Linked DNA regions of Homo sapiens: region 2 is linked to region 1. Evidence: promoter capture Hi-C in human tissues and cell types (Jung and others, 2019). All regions are on one chromosome and are shown on one strand. The core of a region is centred on a gene start or on the middle of the fragment in contact, and the rest is flanking DNA. Distances in the headings are between cores, read along the strand shown.

The links. The method cuts DNA at HindIII sites, captures the fragments that hold promoters and counts their contacts. A contact is called where the count stands out against the background at its distance.
Region 2: a contact is called between a fragment that was not itself captured here and the fragment with the promoter of ITSN2 in region 1, in 2 of the 25 tissues and cell types used here (lymphoblastoid cells and mesenchymal stem cells).

The regions. Positions count from the first base shown.
Region 1 is chr2:24,357,952-24,362,937 of GRCh38, reverse strand. ITSN2 (intersectin 2) reads left to right here and starts at 2,402. Exons shown (of 40, transcript NM_006277.3): 1 at 2,402-2,634. RefSeq lists an enhancer at 1,969-2,118 and silencers at 2,219-2,518, 2,529-2,578, 2,589-2,988. The HindIII fragment of the contact is 6,107 bases long and covers 1-3,823 here.
Region 2 is chr2:23,990,708-23,995,693 of GRCh38, reverse strand. All of the region lies in intron 6 of UBXN2A (UBX domain protein 2A), which reads right to left. Among named protein-coding and RNA genes, the nearest start is that of MFSD2B, 17 kb to the left of the region's middle. The HindIII fragment of the contact is 5,804 bases long and covers 1-4,986 here.

The DNA of each region.
Region 1 (4,986 bases), core at 1,153-3,652:
TCAGGACCCTGATTTCCAGCAGAGGTTGTTAGTTTTTTGGTTTATTTTAGGGGGGCTTTAAATTTTTTTTTATTCCTTTATAAGCATCTCTTTCTACAAATTCCATTTTTGTCCTGCCAAGGATTTGGCACCTCCTTTAGAAGGAAAGGAGACTCAGGGTAAATTGCACCAGGTCTAGAACCCGAAAACACAAATGACATTGGTCAAAGGATGGGAGAAAAATGAAGACTAGCTATGTGCCTAACAGGAATAAAAAATAGGTTTTACCTCTCAGACCAACTCTCTGGAGCACTATGTTGTGAAGGATTCTGGGGCTTTGACTCTCAAATATGGGCTCCAAAAGAGCATATCAGTTAACTGGTGAAGGGTGCAATGGGAATGAGGCCACGTGCTCAAGATTGCTATCCTTGGCCTGGGTGGTTTGTTTGCAGATAAGGACAGATTGGCTGGTCCCCAGCAAGTGAGGGGCCTCCTAGACTGATAAAAGAGTCAGGCTTCTCTGTGTCACTGAAGCTCAGGACCTGTCTGTCAGGTCTTGGTCAGGTTCTAATCGAAGAGTTAGGAAAAACACTGAGTGTGAGAGCGGGAAAAGCCTGTTTATCATCATCGATGTTTGGTAAATTCCTCCTAAGCTGGCTGGCCAGTTCAGATAGGCCTGGGTTTGGAGCCATCTCACCTTCACCTGCCTCAACAGGTAAGGAATGAAAGGATGCCAGGGGTTATTTGATCTACACAGATCAAATCAAGGGATATGAGTTTTGGACCCCAGACCAGCCCTCACCCTGCTTCTAAAAGCCAAAATAAATCTTGGGTCTTGGCCGGGCGTGGTGGCTCACGCCAATCCCAGCACTTTGGGAGGATGAGGCGGGTGGATCACCTGAGGTCAGGAGTTTGAGACCAGCCTGGCCAACATGGTGAAACCAGTGTCTACTAAAAATACAAAAATTAGCCGGGCGTGGTGGCAAGTGCCTGTAATCCCAGGTACTTGGAAGGCTGAGGCAGGAGAATTGCTTGAACCTGGGAGGCGGAGGTTGCAGTGAGCACAGATCTCACAGTTGCGCCACTGCACTCCAGCCTGGGCAACGGAGTGAGAGTCTGTCTCAGGAAAAAAAAAAAAAAAAAAAAAAAAAAAAAAAGAAATCTTGGGTCTTATATCCAAAAATCTTGAGTCTTACATTTGGTTACTTTTTTTTTTTTGAGACAGAGTTTCGCTCTTGTCGCCCAGGCTGGAGTACAGTGGTGCAATCTCTGCTCACTGCAACCTCCGCCTCCCAGGTTCAAGCGATTCTCCTGCCTCAGCCTTCCGAGTAGCTGGGACTACAGGCGCCCGCCACCACGCCCAGCTAATTTTTGTATTGTTAGAAGAGGCGGGGTTTCACCATGTTGGCCAGGCTGGTCTCCAACTCCTGACCTCAGATGATCCACCTGCCTCGGCCTCCCAAAGTGCCGGGGTTACAAGCGTGAGCCACTGTGCCAGGCCGACATTTGGTTACGTTCATTAGGAAACACTAACTCCTCCCTCACCCCAATCAAAAGAAAGCCTTTCCCCTTGAAGAAGCTTCTTGTCAAGGGCAAACCTTTGGGGTTTTGGGATACGGTGGCGGCTTGAGTTGAAGTCTGGTCTTTTGTGAGGAGACCAGGAACCGGGAGGGGAGAAAAGAGACAAATTCTGAGTAGGAGCTTCGCCTGTCCCTTGGCGAGGGGTGGGGAGGAAAGTTTAGCTTCGTCGTGCTATGCTCTATGGGGACAGAGTCTTCCTACTGCTCGGCGGAGTGTGACTAGCGTAGAGGGTGCTCCTCGTGGGCGCTCCGCGTGTGTTATGGAGGAGGGCGAGGAATGGTGAATGGATGACCGAGGGTATGGTTAAGTCCTCCAGGTCCCTGAGAAGGGTTCAAGAGGCCTGTAACAGACCCATGGGCAAGGGTGGGATCAACCTCCTTCCCACCTTCCACCCCCCAATTCCCAGAGAATTCGTTCCCCCAGATCAGTGGAGAAAACTTCGGCGAGTGAGAAGGTTCCAGGGAGAACCCCGTGGTGGGTGCAACAGGGATGTGGCAGGCACTGCTTGGGACTTTCCAAAACCCCGGCGTCTGCCGTGGCAGGAAAAGCACCACCCAAGCTCAGCATGTTACCTCGGGGAGGAGGAGCCAGGTGGGTCTGTGCAACTCCAGGAAGGGCTGCCAGGTCTGGGGCTTCGGGGCCTCCCCGAGGGCAGAGAGGAGCGCTTCGGACCCGACCGACTCGGAGCAGACCTTCAGGGTTCAATGCCCCGGAACTCCTGGGGCGAGGAGCCACGCCCGGGCAGTTTCGGGCTCCGGAGGGTGGGGAGTCGGTGCCCGGCAGCGGGCGGGCCGTCAGCTGCCCGGCCCGGCGCCTACCTCCCCGCCCCCCGGCTTCCTGCGGAGGCCGCGGCCGCCATGTTGTTGTGGGGCTGAGGCGGCGCCGGCGGAGCCCTGAGCGGCTGTGACAGGCTACGCAACAGGTTCGCGGGCGGCGGCCTGACGACCAAGCCAGCTGCAGTGGCGGCGACGGCGGCAGAGCAGGGTCTCCCCGCGCCTGCCCGCGCCCAGGCTGCCGGTGCTGAGGGACGCGGAGTCGCGCTGTGACGAGCGGGAGGCGCGGCGAGGGCGCCAGGTGGGTGAAGCCGCTAGCGGGGCTGCAGCAAGGCGCGGGGCAGGTGCGGGCGCCGCGCCCGCTGCCCGGAGGCTCTGCGGGTCGGGCTGAGGCGGCTGTGCGCTCCGCACGATGGGGACGGGTCCTCGGGAGTACGGGCGGCCCCCGAGCTAGGCCCCTGGCGGGCTCGGCCGTGCGGGGCGGAAACCTCCGGCCCCGGGTTCCTTCCTCTGCTGCCGGGCCGGGACAGACGCCGAGGGGGCCTGGGCTGGGCTGCCCCTTCCTTGCGGCCGAGCCCGGGTCCCTGGCCGCGGCCTCGTCTGGCAGGTGGCGGACGCCGGCGAGGGTCGGGGGTGGCGTGGCCCCCTCGCTTTCGGGGTGTGAGCAGAAGAGAGCTCTGGGGGCACCCGCACGCCTCCTCGGGGACCCATTTTATTTTCGCGGAGTTGGTTTTCCTTCCTGGCAAGGGTTGGTGCCGAATGTCAGGTGAGCCGCATCCCGGTGCGTCAAAGTAGCCCGAGTCACGAGAGGACAGTGGGCGGATGCTTGGCGTCTACCGCTCGCGTTCCTCCGGAGTTGGAAATGTTAAATTTACCTTCAGCGTTATTGACTTCCAGAATATACAGGAAGCACCGAGAGATGTAATCTCTCAGGCCAGATAAAGTTTATTTGTGTATTTATTTATTTATTTTTAAAGACGTCTGCATATGCATAGTGAGTGGGTAAACCGAGGCTGAAACTGCAGATGGCTTTGTATTCTATAGAAAGATGCTCCGTTTGGATTTATTAATTATGCGCCTTGTCGCTCTAGAATTACCAATGGCAAGTGTGCTTTATTTGAAACTTGTGTTAATACTGAAATAGGAATATTTTTTGATGGAGCCAACCCCTTTACGATAGGAATTAAGGTTAGCATAGAAATGACTTGCTTTGCTCCATGCTTCTAGTTTGTCTCACTAGTGTTTGCTTGCTTACTCAGAAATAGGCAAGGTGTGACTTGAAATTTTACGTTGTTAGTGAGCTCAGTTTAGGTAGCATAGCTCTTGTAGTTTAAAGCTTCTTAAGCGTTTCGAAAAATTGCCTCTCTCCCTGTGCTGGTTTGCTATATTGTTAATCAGTGATAAAACCTAAAAGCTACCTAGAAACATCGCATAAAACATTTACGCGAATTAATAATGACGTCCTTCCAAATTTAAAGATACTGACAACTCTGATGTGTTTTCCTTTAGCTTTTTTTGGCTGTGCCTGTGACTCTCTTGTAATTTCAAAAGTAAATAAAGTGGATGTATTTTATGTTTTTGAAAACGTGGAAAAAATGTGCATTGCTGCTATTTTGATGTAATATTAATAAGCAGTTGAAAAGCTTGCATTTTTTCACCCTTCCATGCATTGATAACTATTCCCTGTGCCCACCTTTGTAATGAAAGGTAAACTCGTCCAAGAAAACTTGACCTGTACAGAATTACTAAGCAGGGAGTTACCATTGTTCGGTACATCTCAAGGCTAAAATCTTGATCTCTCCTGAATATGAGGAGGTGTGTTAGGCATGTTTTGGGGATTGGATTAATAGTGTTAAAAAATTTGTATTTTCACAAAAATAGCATGTACCCATCACCCAAACTCAGCAGCTTTCAAGAAGCTTTTCTTTTTTTCTTTCTTATTTTAAAAAATCCTTTAACCTTATGTAGTTAGTATATCTTTTTTAAAAAGTAGAAAATCATGTAACCTTAGGATTTTTAGTTTTAATGTAGAGTTTCACAAATTTCCATCTTTAGTAAGACAAAAGGGTCACATATTGGCTGTCTCCTTCAACTATACTTTCTTCAGTATAAAATATGTTTACCATGGTTGTCATTTATCGAGCACGTAACTGCATGTTAGACTCTATGCTAAGTGTTTTACATAATCATTTAAAGCTCACTAAGGCCCTAGGAGTAATTATTATCTTCCCATCAAAAAGGTAAGTGAAATGTTAACCTGAAGTTTGACTACTTTAGGTCTCTGAGCTAGTAAGTACAATAGCCAGGTTTCAAACCAAGATCCTTTTAACTGCAGCACCTGTGCCTTATCTGGTAGAGTCATCTTGGTTCATACATTTAAAAAAGAGTTATCTATGTGCCGGGTGCCCTGGCTCATGCCTGTAATCCCAGCACTTTGGGAGGCCGAGGAGGGCGGATCACCAGGTCAGGAGTTTGAGACTGACCAATAAGGTGAAATCCTGTCTCTACTAAAAAATACAAAAAATTAGCCTGGCATGGTGGCGTGCGCCTGTAGTCCCAGGTACTCAGGAGGCTGAGGCAGGAGAATCGTTGAACCCGGGAGGCGGAGGTTGCAGTGAACCGAGATCGCACCACTGCACTCCAGCCTAGGCGA
Region 2 (4,986 bases), core at 1,465-3,964, 370 kb after region 1:
TGAGACAGAGTCTTGCTCTGTCGCCCAGGCTGGAGTGCAGTGGCGTGATCTTGGCTCACTGCAAGCTCCGCCCCCTGGGTTCACACCATTCTCCTGCCTCAGCCTCCCGAGTAGCTGGGACTACAGACGCCCGCTACCACGCCTGGCTAATTTTTTTTGTATTTTTAGTAGATCCGGGGTTTCACCATGTTAGCCAGGATGGTCTCGATCTCCTGACCTCGTGATCCGCCCGCCTCAGCCTCCCAAAGTGCTGGGTAAATGCATTTTCAACGTGGATGGGCTTATTGGGACATTACATCATAAGTCAAGGAGCGTCTAAACATAAAAGCGCTATGTGAAAGCACTGAAGACCAACCAATGTAAATCATCTGAGAGCCCTGTAGGAAGGAAATGCACAAGGTGAGCTCCACATTTACACTGGTTTTTTCACTGAGGGCACTTTCCAATTTGTAGCAGTGAATTAGAGGGAAAAAAAAAAGCCATTTCACTACACCAAGGAGAGACAAGAAGCTGGGATTTATAAGCCAAAATCCTGAAACAGAGGGACCCATAAAGAAACGTGACCAGAAAACCGTAACAAATTCTTAAGTTATTGGCTAACTCCTCAGCTATTAGTAGAATGAGAATTCAAAGAACCCAACAGAAAACAGCGACTGAGGAGAGATTCTAGCAGCTCCAAAATGCTGGGCACACAGACTCTAGAGTTTAAGCTCTGCCAATGTGGAGGAGTCTTGGTAAACACCCAGGTTTTCACCACTTCTAAGGGTCAGACCCTAAGGTTCAAGTCCATGCTCTAAAAGCAAAACAGATAACCAACCAGCCCCAGTAAAGTCTACAGTCAATCCAACTAACTCTTAATAAAATCAACATAATCCATTAGGAATCTGTCTGATAGAAGCATAGGTATCTTTGGAGGAAGATGATGTCATCTGAAACGTCTACAATGTTTCCATAAACAAGGTCTAATGACCAGATGAATTATAAGGTATGCTAAAATCCAGAAGAAGCAACAGATAAAATAAAAAGATGAGGAATTTCACCAGACACCTGAAAAATAACAGACTCAAATGAAAAGTCTACAAGTGACAGTAGAATTGAAAGTAAGAATTCCAACACATGTATTTAACAGACCAGACCAATACAACAGATTACTGAACTCGAAGACAGGTCAAATAGAAAATATGCAGACTGAATCAGAAGGAAAAAGAAGAAAAAAATTAGAAAAGAATATAAGATACACTGAAAACATCTAACATACATGTAAATAAAGCCACAAATGCCAAAGACAAAAGAGAATAAAATACGAGAACATTTCCATCAATACTGGCCAAGAAACTCCCCAAACTGACAAAAAACCTTAACTATGGATCCAAGAAACTCAGCAAATTCTAAGCAATATAATGCAAAGATAACTAACACCTAGGCACATCATATTCAAGCTATTAAAATCTAAGAACAAAGAGAAAAATTTTAAACTGAGAGGAAAAAAGACTTAATATCTTTCAAAAGAGCAAGAAAAAGGCTGACAGCTGATTTTTGAGTAGGAGAGTGGAAGCTGGAAGACAACATATGGGCATTCTTAAGAGCTGATGTGCTAGAAAAACCTGACAGTTCTAGCCTAGTGAAAATGGTCTTTAAAAATGAAGATGTGTTCAAATCAAAGCTAAGAGAATTCATCATTAGTAGATAAGCAATTAAAGAGATACTAAAGGCAGGGCTCGGTGACTCACGCCTGTAATCCCAGCACTTTGGGAAGCCGAGGCGGACCACAAGGTCAGGAGTTGGAGACCAGCCTGGCCAACATGGTGAAACCCTGTCTCTACCAAAAAAATACAAAAATTAGCTGGGTGTGGTAGCGCATGCCTGTAATGCCAGCTACTTGGGAAGCTGAGACAGGAGAATTGCTTGAACCAGGGAGGCAGAGGTCGCAGTGTGCTGAGATCACTCCGCTGCGCTCCAACCAGGTGACAGAGCAAGACTCTGTCTTGAAAAAAAAAAAAAATTAAAAAATTAAAAAAATTTAAGAGATACTAAGCATAATTGTTCAGGCTAAAACATCAAACTGGGTAAAAAACAGAAAAAGTAAAATGATATATAAGTGAATATTGTTTACAAGTAATAGCATTTTGAGGGTTGTTAAAATGTTCGTAGAAGTAACATATTTGTTGACAAAAATAGCAAAAAGGAAGAGAGTAACAGAGTGAAATTGTTGGCCAGGGGCAGTGGCTCAAGCCTATAATCCCAGCAGGTGAGACCCTGTCTCTACCAAAATATATTATATATTTAAAACAGAAAAGAAAAAGCCTGATTAATCATTACTAAATAAATGCTGTTGGCCAAAAATTTTTAAACGCTTCAGTCATTTAGGGGGAAAAAAAGCTACGTGTTTCATTGTTATTCACCTAGATAAACAAGTCAAGATTAAAATTTATTTCCCTGAAGATAAACAAATAAGCTTGGGCCAGAATAACAAATCCCCATTCCCATTTCTACATCTTTAGTTTGCTCTCCTCTTCATTTGGAAGGAATTTAGGTCACAAAAGAACATTCCAGGACACAATTTCAAACTTGTGCTTCTTCTATTATTATGATAATCAGTTGTGTGATTCCAGCTGTCTAGAATGGTTTTGACAGAAATAAAAGTGAAATGCCTTCAAGAGAGCCAAACACATAGAAAGCACCAGGTAGATGGTAGCTAAAGAAATCCACAAAACAGAAACCTCCTTGCAGAGTAAAACAGGAGGAAAAAACCCCACAAAACCAGAAACTAATACTGTTAGCCTAGATTTAAAAACAAAACTCAACTATTTACAAGAGATAGTTTTAAATACACACACAGATAAATATATACAGATACGTTGAAATTAAAAGTAAGTAGAAAAATATACCAGGCAAATACTAATTAGAAGGAAGCTGTTATGACCATATTAATATCAGGCAGAGTAGATTTAACACAAAAAGCATTACCAAGGATTGAGAGAGACATGTGACAGTGCTAAAAAGGTTGACAGGGTTCAAGATATGCTACCCTAAAATATGGCACCTTGGCATTTGAGGAAACAGCAGAAACAGGTAGATCAGTCTCATTCTCCCCTTGCCCTTCTCCCCTCAAAGCAGACCAAAAAAGAAATTATCTGTCCTTCCTCTGAAGTAGGTCATAAAACCTTCCTTTCCGAGGTATTGTTCGTATACCCAGAGGAAAGGAACAACCTTATCCTTGAAGATGCAGAGATGCCACGAAGAATCTGAACGAACAGGCTAAGCTAAGTTCCCCTTAATTTATTACCATTAGATCATACCCCTTTTGCCCTCCAATCATACTTCTCCACAAACTATCCACTTCCTCATCAAACTTAGGCCAGGAGTTCAAGACCAGCCTGGCCAACATGGCGAAACCCTGTCTCTACTAAAAATACCAAAATTAGGCTGGGCGCGGTGGCTCATGCCTGTAATCCCAGCACTTTGGGAGGCCGAGGCAGGAGGATCATGAGGTCAGGAGATCAAGACCAGCCTGGCCAACATGGTGAAACCCCATCTCTACTAAAAATACAAAAATTAGCTGGGCATGGTGGCACACACCTGTAGTCCCAGCTACTCGGGAGGCTGAGGCAGGAGAATCGCATGAACCAGGGAGGCGGAGGTTGCAGTGAGCTGAGATTGCGCCACTGCATTCCAGCCTGGCGACAGAGCAAGACTCCATCTCAAAAAACAAAACAAAACAAAAAACCCCAAAAATTAGCCAGGCGTGGTGGCAGGTGCCTATAATCCCAGCTACTTGGGAGGCTGAGGGACGAGAATTGCTTGAACCCAGGAGGCAGAGGTTTCAATGAGCCAAGATCATGCCACTGCACTCCAGCCTAGGCAACAGAGTTGAGACTGTCTCAAAAAAACAAAACAAAACAAACAAACAAAAAACAAAAAAGGCCGGGCACTGTGGCTCACGCCTGTAATCCCAGCACTTTGGGAGGCCAAGGTGAGCGGACCACCTGAGATCAGCAGTTCGAGACCAGACTGGCCAACATGGCAAACCCTTTCTCTACTAAAAATACAAAAAAAATTAGCCAGGTGTGGTGATAGGCGCCTGTGATCCCAGTTACTCAGGAGTCTGGGGCAGGGAGAATTGCTTGAACCTGGGAGGCAGAAGTTGCAGTGAGCCGAGATCACACCACTGCACTCCAGCCTAGGCAACAGAGAGAGACTCCATCTCAAAAACAAAACAAAACAAAAAAGACAGAAAAAAATATAATATATATATATGTATATGTGTGTGTGTGTGTGTGTGTGTGTATAAAATAAAATATAAAATCACATGCATTTCTTTTGTTAATCTGTCTTTTGTTAAAGGGGTCTCAGCCATGAATCTAGGCAATGGGCGAAGAAAATCTTTTCTCCCCAACAAAGTCAATTAATCAGAAAAACACAATTTCATCTCTGCTGGACCCAATTATATAACTTTAAAATATATAAAGCAAACATTGACAGAAGTAAATAAGAAATAGACAAATCCATAATCATAGTTGGAGATTTTAGCACAACTTTCTTGGTAACTAATAAAATAAGCAGAAAAAACGGAAGAAAAACACAATTTTTTAATGATTCAGTCCAAAAGCCACCAAGCCATTAGTAGGACAGAACATGGGAGGCATCTATTTCAGAAATGCTGGGAGTTGTGGTGGCCCATATAAGAGCTGTCTAGTGTAGGATGTCAGAGGCCAAGTGGGGTGAGGAAAAATATCCAAGCTGGTGGGTAGGAGAAGAGTAGTCATGGCTTAGTAGCTTTTAAGGACAGTTTTACTTTTTTAAACCTGACATGAATGGAATCATAGTGTATGTGTTCTATAGCTTTATCTCTACATTATGTTTTTGGGACTCATCCATGTTTATGTGTGCAGCCATAGCAAATACTTTTTTTTTTTTTTTGAGATGGAGTCTCACTCTGTCACCCAGGCTGGAGTGCAGTGGTGTGATTTCAGCTCACTGCAACCT